4 separate regions of the Homo sapiens genome follow, and all the other regions are linked to region 4. The links are contacts of gene promoters, found by promoter capture Hi-C in blood cells and fetal thymus (Javierre and others, 2016). All regions are on one chromosome and are shown on one strand. The core of a region is centred on a gene start or on the middle of the fragment in contact, and the rest is flanking DNA. Distances in the headings are between cores, read along the strand shown. Region 1 holds the start of MIR647 (microRNA 647). Region 2 holds the start of ABHD16B (abhydrolase domain containing 16B). Region 3 overlaps TPD52L2 (TPD52 like 2). Region 4 holds the start of HELZ2 (helicase with zinc finger 2).

What was found. Contacts are between HindIII fragments. The CHiCAGO score rates a contact against its expected background, and 5 or more counts as called.
Region 1: a fragment that was not itself captured here is called in contact with the fragment with the promoter of HELZ2 in region 4 in 1 of 17 cell types (monocytes); the score reaches 5.2 in monocytes.
Region 2: the fragment with the promoter of ABHD16B here is called in contact with the fragment with the promoter of HELZ2 in region 4 in 3 of 17 cell types (M1 macrophages, non-activated CD4 T cells and neutrophils); the score reaches 7.3 in M1 macrophages.
Region 3: a contact is called between a fragment that was not itself captured here and the fragment with the promoter of HELZ2 in region 4, in 2 of 17 cell types (naive CD4 T cells and M1 macrophages). The highest score is 5.9, in naive CD4 T cells.

What each region holds. Positions count from the first base shown.
Region 1 is chr20:63,941,696-63,944,395 of GRCh38, forward strand. UCKL1 (uridine-cytidine kinase 1 like 1) reads right to left here. Exons shown (of 15, transcript NM_017859.4): 8 at 1,958-1,974. It overlaps MIR647 (microRNA 647), which reads right to left and starts at 1,031; the gene lies at 936-1,031. RefSeq lists enhancers at 623-1,336, 1,337-2,048. The HindIII fragment of the contact is 298 bases long and covers 1,122-1,419 here.
Region 2 is chr20:63,860,225-63,862,924 of GRCh38, forward strand. ABHD16B (abhydrolase domain containing 16B) reads left to right here and starts at 1,274. Exons shown (of 1, transcript NM_080622.4): 1 at 1,274-2,700. The coding sequence starts at 1,317. It overlaps ABHD16B-AS1 (ABHD16B antisense RNA 1), which reads right to left. Exons shown (of 2, transcript NR_165314.1): 2 at 991-2,700. The HindIII fragment of the contact is 10,144 bases long and covers 1-2,700 here.
Region 3 is chr20:63,877,993-63,880,692 of GRCh38, forward strand. All of the region lies in intron 4 of TPD52L2 (TPD52 like 2), which reads left to right. Among named protein-coding and RNA genes, the nearest start is that of TPD52L2, 14 kb to the left of the region's middle. RefSeq lists an enhancer at 177-346. The HindIII fragment of the contact is 6,839 bases long and covers 1-2,700 here.
Region 4 is chr20:63,572,976-63,575,675 of GRCh38, forward strand. It overlaps HELZ2 (helicase with zinc finger 2), which reads right to left and starts at 1,264. Exons shown (of 20, transcript NM_001037335.2): 1 at 1,209-1,264; 2 at 1-246. RefSeq lists silencers at 609-668, 1,309-1,588, 2,698-2,700 and an enhancer at 1,373-2,100. The HindIII fragment of the contact is 21,413 bases long and covers 1-2,700 here.

The DNA of each region.
Region 1 (2,700 bases), core at 21-2,520, 370 kb after region 4:
AGTGTCTCTTGGCTGTCCCGTCCCGCCCCGCTGCCCAAGCCTGGGGATGGCCGGGGCAGCAGCAGGTCTAGGAGCGGGCAGGAAAAGGGCGGGGTGGAGGCAAGAAAGAGGTGGGACAGGGAGGAGGCAAAGCCGGAAAGGGGCATGACAGGGGCAGGGAATGGGGCGGGGCAGGAAAGGGGGTGATGCAGGGGCAGGAAGAGGAAAGCGACAGGCCACAGAATTGGGTGTGGCAGGGGAAGGAAAGAGGCAGGGCACGGAATTGGGTGTGGCAGGGCAGAAAAGAGGCGTGACAGCGGCAGGGAAAGGGGCGGGGCCGGGAATGGGGTGTGGCAGGGCAGAAAAGAGGCGTGACAGCGGCAGGGAAAGGGGCGGGGCCGGGAATGGGGTGTGGCAGGGCAGAAAAGAGGCGTGACAGCGGCAGGGAAAGGGGCGGGGCCGGGAATGGGGTGTGGCAGGGCAGAAAAGAGGCGTGACAGCGGCAGGGAAAGGGGCGGGGCCGGGAATGGGGTGTGGCAGGGCAGAAAAGAGGCGTGACAGCGGCAGGGAAAGGGGCGGGGCCGGGAATGGGGTGTGGCAGGGCAGAAAAGAGGCGTGACAGCGGCAGGGAAAGGGGCGGGGCCGGAAATGGGGTGTGGCAGGGCAGAAAAGAGGCGTGACAGCGGCAGGGAAAGGGGCGGGGCAGGAGCAGGAAAGAGGGCCTAGCGGGAGCAGCGGGGCAAGGGGCTACGGGAAGGCGGGTCACACAGCAGCACCACGGAGCACACTGCTCACATATCCCAACGTAGCTTCCTCTGCTTGCCAGGTGAAGAGCATGTTCAGGGAGGGAACAAGGCAGGAAACGGGGGTTTACAGAGAGAAGGAAGAGAACAAAGAGAAGGCTGCTTAGTTGGGGAGCAGGGCGTTCCCCGCAGGCCTGAGGAGGAGTGTGGGCGGTCAGGCCCCCAGCCCTGCCTGACCCTCCCTCCTGCCCCCGACCAAGGCTTCCTGGGGCTGAAGGAAGTGAGTGCAGCCACAGGCCAACACTTCCTTGGCTGACCAGACGACGGAAAATGTGTCTGGCTGCGTTCAGGTGTTTTTCCAAGTTTGAAACCCTGGAAAGTTTTTCCTCTCAGAACAAAAGCTTCAGGAGGAACCTGACGGGACAAGACCTGCGGGTTCCTAGGCCGAGGAGAGGGCCAAGCGGAGACTCATGCAGGCACCGGAAGCTGGACGGCTGGTGGACGGGCCCTGGAGGCATTTCCAACATTTGGCAAACTCTTTGGAGGGCTCTGAATGTGAGGGCTCTCCCTCCAGGTGGCTCAGTCAGGAGCCTCCCAACCCACAGAAGGCAGGGAGAAGGGCAGGTCCCTTGTGGCTGACCCCCCTGCATGCCTGCCCTTGGGGAGGGACAGTGGGATGCGGCCCCGGCCCAGCCCAAGCTTCTTGCTGCAGTTGCCCAGTTCCTGCTGGCAGAGCTGTGCGGGCTGCGAGGACAGAGCTGGGGCAAGCAGGACCCGGGTGGGTGGGAGGACAGGCGCGAGGCCCTCCACCTGCAACCAGGGAAAGCTGACTGGTCCGTGAGGCTGGGCACAGGAGGTACAGCAGGCTCCCTGGCTGCTGGGACATGTCTGTAGTCACTGCCCCAGAGGCCTGGCAGTGCTGGCTCAGGAGGACAGCTGTGCTCTCTGGGGTCAAATCCCATAGACAGACTCAGGAGTCAGGGGAGCCTCCAGCAAAGTCTGGCCAGGACAGGGTCAGGACTCCGTGACGCTGGGCAAGCTACTTCACGTCTCTGTGCCTCAGTGTCCTCATCTGCCAGCAAGGGGAGGCAGAAGCAGGGCTGGGACCACTCCACACCACCCCTTCTGTGACTGGGGAAGAGCCAGCTGCCTGGCTGGATCACAGCCCAGACCCCAGAGCTCCTTGGAGGTGTTGGAAGTGCCTCCATCTGTGCAGACAGCTGTGCAAGTCTTACCTGACGCTGAGTTCACGCTGTGGCAGCAACACAGGAAGACACAAGGGAACGGTGGCGCGTCAGTGACCAGGGCAGGCGGCCAGGCCACCCCCACCCAGGAATGGACATGCTGCAGGCCCGCGGGGACACAGCCAGCCATGGGGGGTGGCAAGCTTCTAATGCCTGTAACCTGGGGACCACCTGGGCCAGACCTGCAGTTCTGCGTTGGGGCAATCAGAGCCAGGACCCTGGGCTCTGTTCTGCAGGCCTCAGGCCTTCAACATCCTGGTAGGGAGTGTGTTCAGAGCCACTCAGGCTCCAAGGCCCAGCCATAGAATGCCTCAGGGAGCAGGGGACCTCTGGTGGGGGTGTCGCTCCTGGGGTGACCCCCTGAGAAAGAGAGGAGCCTGGCCTGGCGTGGGACTCAGCAGTGAAACCCCACAATCCTGGGCCAGCAGGTCATGCCTGTCTTCCCAAAAGCTCAGGCTGGGTGTGCTGAGCGGGCTGCACCCTCGGCTGGGTCCTGAGCACCTGTACCCCCACCCCAGCTTCCTCAGGGAACCCAGGCCCTGCACAGCACAACGGGATGGGGTCTGGGCTGGACAATCTGACTGGCCAAGCAGGCTCAGGACACTCAGGGCTGGCACCTGGCAGGGGACAGTGAACGCAGGGGGATGAGGTGACCAGGCCACTGGGGGTGGTGGCAGCGGAGAAGTGGGTAGAGGGGCTGGGGGCTAGGCCGTGGGGACGTGGGACCCCGCTCA
Region 2 (2,700 bases), core at 24-2,523, 290 kb after region 4:
AATTTAACTGGCATATTATTCTGTATTTTATCTGGCAACCTAGAATGGGGGTAATAGCCCCCCAAATCGCTCCCTTTGTTAATTGGTCCCTGTCTTCTGTCCCCCAACCCCTAAAGGCAGCAGCTGACTCCCCCAACTAGGGGCGGGGCCTGTTAGGGTCAGGCAGTGCCTCTAACCCAGACGCTGAGCAGGAGAGCAGAGAGGGGGTGCTTCAGCCTGAAACTACCCCTTCCCCAGAAGGCTGGGGTCCCAGGCGGGCCTGGCACCTGGGCTCAGAGGCTCTGGCTGGATTTGCCAAACTCCCTGATTGTAGCATGTTTGTTTCTGGTCTGGGGAGCTGTTGAGTACCTGGAGCTGCCCTCTTCCCTGGGGCTCCTCCTGGCAGGCGGCTTCCGACCCTGCCCTCAGGTGGGCTGGCCCTTTCCAGGGCAGGAGAAAAGATACCTCTCCAGAAAAGAGGGAGGCGCAGCCTGGGAGTGGGGGCTCGACCCAGGAGCGAGAAAGAGGAACCCCAGCCAGGCAGGACCCGCCCCAGAAGGTCACTGCTGTTGCTGGCAGCCAGTGAAAAGAGGATCCAGAAAAGGAGAGGGCTTGTTTCTGGTCAGCACCGAAGAAGGAAGGTGTGGAGAGGAGGGGCCGGGCCGAGAGCAAATACCGCCTTTTTGGTGCAGCAGCAGCCCTGTCTCTGACCCCGGCCGTCCTGGGGAGATGAGGTTTAAACCAGCAGACCCTGAAGGGAAACTTGCAGGACCCACAGCAAGCCTGGTACAGGCGGAGGAGGCCTTGCTGTCCCTTTTTGGCCCGTGGGGCTGTCCATCTTAAATTTAAGGAAGAGGGAGGCGGGGTGCAGGGACTCACACCTGTAATCCCAACACTGTGGGAGGTGGAGGCGGGGTGCAGGGACTCACACCTGTAATCCCAACACTGTGGGAGGTGGAGGCGGGAGGATCGCTTGAGCCCAGGGGTTCAAGACCAGCCTAGGCAGCATAGTGAGACCCCATCTCAATTTAATAAATAAATAAGGAAGAAAGAGGGAGACAGTAGCTGCTCAAATCATGGGTGGGAAAGCTGGGCCTGGGAGCGTTTAGCTGGTGGGGTCTTGGCGAAGGCGGGGGACGGGCAGAACCTTGGGTTCATCATCTCTGGGAACCCTTTGTGCACCCATCACCTAGCAACAGGATGCAGCCTTCCCTCCGCCCTGGAAGGCCAGGTCACAAAGGCCATCAGGGCTTGTCCGGGAGCCGGTATCCCCTAAGACTGCCCTGTGCCTCTCGCGGCGATCCCGGCCCAGCGGCTGGGCGTTAGGGCCACCGCTCATGTGCGTCATCTGCTTCGTGAAGGCGCTGGTGCGCGTGTTCAAGATCTACCTGACCGCCAGCTACACCTACCCATTCCGCGGCTGGCCCGTGGCCTTCCGCTGGGATGACGTGCGCGCCGTGGGCCGGAGCAGCAGCCACCGGGCGCTGACCTGCGCGGCAGCCGCGGCGGGCGTGTGGTTGCTGCGGGACGAGACGCTGGGCGGGGATGCGCTGGGGCGGCCTCCACGTGGGGCGCGCAGCCAGGCGCAGTGCCTCTTGCAGCAGCTCCGCGAGCTGCCCGGCCAGCTCGCTAGCTACGCGCTGGCCCACTCGCTGGGCCGCTGGCTCGTGTACCCCGGCTCCGTGTCCCTGATGACGCGCGCGCTGCTGCCGCTGCTGCAGCAGGGCCAAGAGCGCCTCGTGGAGCGCTACCACGGCCGGCGCGCCAAGCTGGTGGCCTGTGACGGCAACGAGATCGACACTATGTTCATGGACCGCCGCCAGCACCCGGGCAGCCACGTGCACGGGCCGCGCCTCGTCATCTGCTGCGAAGGCAACGCGGGCTTCTACGAGATGGGCTGTCTGTCTGCACCGCTCGAGGCCGGCTACTCCGTGCTGGGCTGGAACCACCCCGGCTTCGGCAGCAGCACTGGCGTGCCCTTCCCTCAGCACGACGCCAACGCCATGGACGTGGTGGTCGAGTACGCACTGCACCGCCTGCACTTCCCGCCCGCGCACCTGGTGGTCTACGGCTGGTCTGTTGGCGGCTTCACGGCCACCTGGGCCACCATGACCTACCCGGAGCTGGGTGCACTGGTGCTGGACGCCACCTTCGACGACCTTGTGCCGCTGGCGCTGAAGGTCATGCCCCACAGTTGGAAGGGGCTGGTGGTGCGCACCGTGCGCGAGCACTTCAACCTCAACGTGGCCGAGCAGCTGTGCTGCTACCCGGGGCCGGTGCTGCTGCTCCGACGCACGCAGGATGACGTGGTCAGCACTTCGGGCCGCCTGCGCCCCCTGTCACCTGGTGACGTGGAGGGCAACCGGGGCAATGAGCTGCTGCTGCGCCTGCTGGAGCACCGCTACCCCGTCGTGATGGCGCGAGAGGGCCGCGCCGTCGTCACCCGCTGGCTGCGCGCTGGCAGCTTGGCGCAGGAGGCCGCCTTCTATGCACGCTACCGCGTGGACGAGGACTGGTGCCTGGCGCTGCTGCGCTCCTACCGTGCACGCTGCGAAGAGGAGCTGGAGGGCGAGGAGGCCCTGGGGCCACACGGACCCGCCTTCCCATGGCTGGTGGGCCAGGGCCTGAGCTCGCGGCGGCGCCGGCGCCTCGCACTGTTCCTGGCTCGGAAGCACCTCAAGAACGTGGAGGCGACTCACTTCAGCCCTCTGGAGCCTGAGG
Region 3 (2,700 bases), core at 143-2,642, 310 kb after region 4:
GACGGCCCAGACGGAAGGGATGCGGCTTGGGAGGTGGGGCCTGAGGATGTGGCCATGGCGCGTGCTCTTCCTGGCTGGTGCCTCTCCTAGTCAGCTTCAGGAGATGGGCTGTAGATGTACCTCCACTGCCCAGAGCTCTGCAGGGGAAGGCAGTAAAAGCTCCCTGCATCCTGACCCACGTGTTTGTAGATCCTTTCAGCTATTGGCGCCCTGGAGGATGGACGGGAAGGAGAACGTGGCCGGTGGGTGGAGGATAGCACTGGTGCCTGGCCCCATGAGGCTGCAATGCGGCCACATTCTCAGTGGGTCATGTCTGAATGCGAGAGCAGCTGTGTTCTGCGAGTGGTGAAACAATTGCCTGTTGCATTCTATTTATAGGCAGAGGTAACTAAAAACCTCAGTGCTGAGAGGGGCATCATATAGATCCTGCAGTTATGAGCTGGTTCACTTGGAGTTGTTTTGGTTGCAGGTGACAGAAAGCACGACTCAAGGTAGCATCAACCAAACAGGGAGGTGGGAGCACTCACCAGGCAGAGAAGTCCCTGCCCCCACTGCTGCAGCCCAACAGTGTGGCCCCATATGGGTCTCCCTGGACTAATGGCTGCGGCCTTGGAGGTGGTGTGCTCTGGCCAGGCCTGGATCACTTGTCCATCCTGAGTGGGAGTGGGGGCAGCCCCCAGAGACAGACTCAGGAGAGGGGGAGTGCAAGGATGTCCCCCAGATGCCCTGTGCTGCCCAGGGGACAGCTCACTGGCAGTGGGACGAAACCGCTGTCTGTCCAGGGCTCTCTTCCTAGAAGGTCTTAGGAACTCCCAAATGGGTGCTGGCTGGGGTTGCCCGGCCCGGTGCTCTCAAGGAGAGCTGAAGCTAGTTATTGGGTGCAGATGCTGGCTCTGACCCCTGCCCCTTCCTCCCGGGCTCAGCTTCCCCATCTGTCATGGAGTAATAACAACCCAGCCTTCTGGTCCACTGAGGAATGTGTGTGCCTGTGTGTTTGACGCTCTCAGAACAGGCCTGCAGCGCTGTGAGCCTTGGAAGGGGGCCTCACAGCTGCTGCCGCCACCTTGGAGGCCCAGGATGGGACTGAGAAGGGGAAGGGAGAGGTCAGAGCCACAGCTGTTGGGCAGGGACCTGCTGTAGGAAGAGAAGGCCAGGGAGGCGCTGGTGGTGGCCTCAGGCTATGCAGGTGATGCCCATTGTTTCCAGGGCCATCCCAGTTTGGAGGTTCCTGTTTCTAGAGGAGGTTCCCTTGTGACCCCCTCATTTCCACACCCGAGCAATGCTGAGGGCTGTGGGGCCCCCAGGGGCTTGAGTGTGGTTTATGGCACAGCAGGGACTGATCACAGTGGCACCGGGTGTCAGTGGCCAGTGGTCAGTGGCCAGGAACCCTCAGGACCCTCCTCCTTGTGTGGGTGGCATTTACCCACCCACAGGTCACGCTCAGGACCCGCATCTCATTCCGATCCTCCTTGTGTGGGTGGTACTTACCCACCCACAGGTCACGCTCAGGACCCCACATCTCATTCTGAAGGCCGGGCACAGGCGGTTGTTTTCTCTCCAACTTCGGTTTCCCCATCCCCACTCTTAGGGCACAAATGCAGGTGTAGCTTCCCCATGCCCACTCTTTAGGCACAAATGCAGGTGTAGCTTCCCCATCCCCACTCTTAGGGCACAAATGCAGGTGCAGCTTCCCCATCCCCACTCTTAGGGCACAAATGCAGGTGCAGCTTCCCCATCCCCACTCTTTAGGCACAAATGCAGGTGCAGCTTTCCCATCCCCACTCTTAGGGCACAAATGCAGGTGCAGCTTTCCCATCCCCACTCTTAGGGCACAAATGCAGGTGCAGCTTCCCCATCCCCACTCTTAGGGCACAAATGCAGGTGCAGCTTCCCCATCCCCACTCTTAGGGCACAAATGCAGGTGCAGCTTCCCCATCCCCACTCTTTAGGCACAAATGCAGGTGCAGCTTCCCCATCCCCACTCTTTAGGCACAAATGCAGGTGCAGCTTCCCCATCCCCACTCTTAGGGCACAAATGCAGGTGCAGCTTCCCCATCCCCACTCTTTAGGCACAAATGCAGGTGCAGCTTCCCCATCCCCACTCTTTAGGCACAAATGCAGGTGCAGCTTTCCCATCCCCACTCTTAGGGCACAAATGCAGGTGCAGCTTCCCCATCCCCACTCTTTAGGCACAAATGCAGGTGCAGCTTCCCCATCCCCACTCTTAGGGCACAAATGCAGGTGCAGCTTCCCCATCCCCACTCTTAGGGCACAAATGCAGGTGCAGCTTCCCCATCCCCACTCTTTAGGCACAAATGCAGGTGCAGCTTCCCCATCCCCACTCTTAGGGCACAAATGCAGGTGCAGCTTCCCCATCCCCACTCTTTAGGCACAAATGCAGGTGCAGCTTCCCCATCCCCACTCTTAGGGCACAAATGCAGGTGCAGCTTCCCCATCCCCACTCTTTAGGCACAAATGCAGGTGCTGTGAGCGCTTTAGAATCCTCTGCTGCAGGTGACTTTGCTTCAGCGAACCACAGAATGTTCACATGGTTTTATGCATTTGTTATTTCAGGGAAAATCAAGGTTAAAGATGTCTTCAGAATTTGTATTTTTGGGCTGGGCACGGTGGCTCACACCTGTAATCCCAACACTTTTGGAGGCTGAGGCAGGCGGATCACGAGGTCAGGAGATCGAGACC
Region 4 (2,700 bases), core at 14-2,513:
CCCTACGGAGGACGTAGGTGCTTTCATTGAGCCGCTGGGTGCAGCGGGAGCAGCCCAGACACAGGTCCACCAGGGCACACAGCCGGGCCAGGGACGGCCCTCTGGTGGCCGCGGGGCTGTTGGGCAGCAGGGTGGACCCTGGAGGCGCCACCTCGAACACCAGCTTGGCTCTCCAGGGAGGCGTCTGAGGCTCCTGAGCTCACGGGTCCACGCAGTCCACTGGAACTGTTGGCCACGGTTCGAAGCCTGCGACAGAAGGAGCAGGTGAGACTGAGGCCAGAGGACATCTGGTCCAGGCCCAGCTCAGAAGCACGGCCTCTCCACCAGGCAAGGAGCTGGGGATCTGCCTATCCTGATGCCCAAGCAGAGGCCTCTCCACCAAGCAAGGAGTTGGGACTCTCCCCACCCTGACGCCCAAGTGGAGGCCTTGGCAGTAGCTGTGTCCTGTCAGGGAGTACAGGGCTCACTGACCCGGACACAGCCAGACCCTCCCTCCTGAAGGGTCTCAGGCCCCACCTAGAAGGAGCCAAGGTGACTGCTTGTGGAGCCCTGGAGGGGGCAGAGCCCTTGGCACAGTGCCGCCCCCAGGAGGCCGCACCCCTCTGCCCCAGCCAGGGGTCCTGTGCACCCCAGGGCCTCAGGCTCCTGACTCTTCTAAGGACACAGCACCTCCTTTTCTATTGAATGACCACTGGCCCCCAGGAAAAGAGGACTCCACATCTGCACCTGGGGAGGGGCCTCACGGAGAGGAGGGTACAGTGCCCACCAGAGCTCAGGGTGCCAGGAAGAGATGGGTCCCCGGGTCCCCACCGCAGCTGGGATGCTACAAGAAGAGTAAGTTTAAAAGCAACAGACTGGAGGCAGACTTCAGTATGAGAACCCGGCACTCCCCGCGGACCCCTCTGAGAAAACATCCGAGTCTGCCATCCAGAAAGGACGGGAGCCGAGACCCCAAAATCCTGCGCTCCAGTGGGTGCAGAGACCACAGCGCTGGGTCTTGCTGCGGAGGGTGCTGGTCCTGGACGGGCTGCACTGCCCCGGGCTGGGTCTGTGGCTCCCGGGACTCCGCGCCCCCGGCTGCACTCACCCTCCCGGACCCCCCCCTCCGCCCCCGGCCCCGCCACCCTGGGACCCCCGCGCTCACCCTCCTGGAGCCGCCCCTGGACCCCCGCGCCCCCGCCCCTCCGCCCTGGGACCCCCGCGCTCACCCTCCTGGAGCTGCCTGCCCTGCCGAGCCTGCCCAGGAGCTCTCAGTTTCGATTCTGGCCCGGGCACTGACGCTGATCGCGGAAATTACCTCACCGCCCCCCGCCCCGCCCCGCCCTGCCCCGCCTCCAGCGACAGCTCGGCCCCCGCTGCGAGGGAACCTCGGGAAGCGCCAGCGAGCAGAGGACGCCCCTCCCTGAAGGGCCAGCGCCGTCGAAGGCGGAGGCGGCTGGGGGTGGGGGTCCTTTCCCGCACCCCTCCAGGGCCCCACGCCCCGTCCAGCCCTTCACACACCAGAGACGCCCCGATGATGTGCCAGGCGGAAGGGGTGAGACCCTGCCCGGCCCTGGACGGCAGGATGGTCTGGTGACTCCACCATCAGCCCCTGGAGAAATCCAGGCACAGCTGACCTGGAAGCCTGGGTCCCCTGACAGGCAGGACCTGCCCGTGGCCCTGGTGCTGCTGGGACCCCAAGTCCCTTCTGTCACCAACCAGGATATGGCAGGAATGGCTAAGTGGCCGCCGGGTCCCAGAGTCAGCACGCCTGGCTCTTGGCTCTCTGGACTGGCTCTGGGCCCTCAGCAGCCCTGTGGGGAGGCCCCATAGAGGAGCTGAGGCCTCCAGCCCACTTGCAGCTCGAGTCCCAGCCCCAGCCTTACTGCCATCTCAGGGAGACCCCAGGCCTAACCCTCCCACCTAGACCACGCCCAGCTGTTAGATGTCTATGTTTAAAATAAACGTCCCATTAGCCAGGGGTGGGGGCGGGCGCCTGTAGTCCCAGTTACTCGGGAGGCTGAGGCAGAAGCATTGCTTGAACCAAGGAAGTGGAGGTTGCAGTGCGCCAAGATTGCGCCACTGCACTCCAGCCTGGGCAACAGAGCAAGACTCCATCTCAAAACAAATAAATAAATAAAATAAACATCTGTGTTGTTTTAAGCCCCTGAGCTTTGGGGCGATCTGTTCTGCAGCAGTAGATAACGGACAGTGATGCTGCCCCTGAAACAAGGAAGCAAGGCTGCCACCCAAGGCCAGCACCTCGTGGGGAGGGCCAGGCTGGGGGCTCACAGCGACCTCGGGAGGTCGGCTGGGTGGGCCGTCAACCACCAGGGAGCCTCTCCGCAGACCAATCACGTTGGAGCTCCTGGGAGAGGGCAGGCCCTCGACAATAGCAGCCCCAGGGGCCGGGCGCTGAGCAGGGTCCATGTGCGTGGAACGCTGGGAGAATTTGTGTGGAACGCTGTGTTCCTGGATGGAGAGGCTCAACACCACACAAAGACGTGAGTTCCTCCTAAACTAACCTGCAGTCGCATGGTGGACACACTGACTTTCAAGTCCATTTGGAAAAGCATCACATCACCAAGAAAGGCTGGACAGGGCTTTTTTTTTTTTTGAGACTGAGTCTCCTTCCATTGCCCCGGCGGGAGTGCAGTGATGCAATCACAGTTCACTGCAGCCTCGACCTCTGGCTCAGACAGTCTTCCCCCCTCAGCCTCC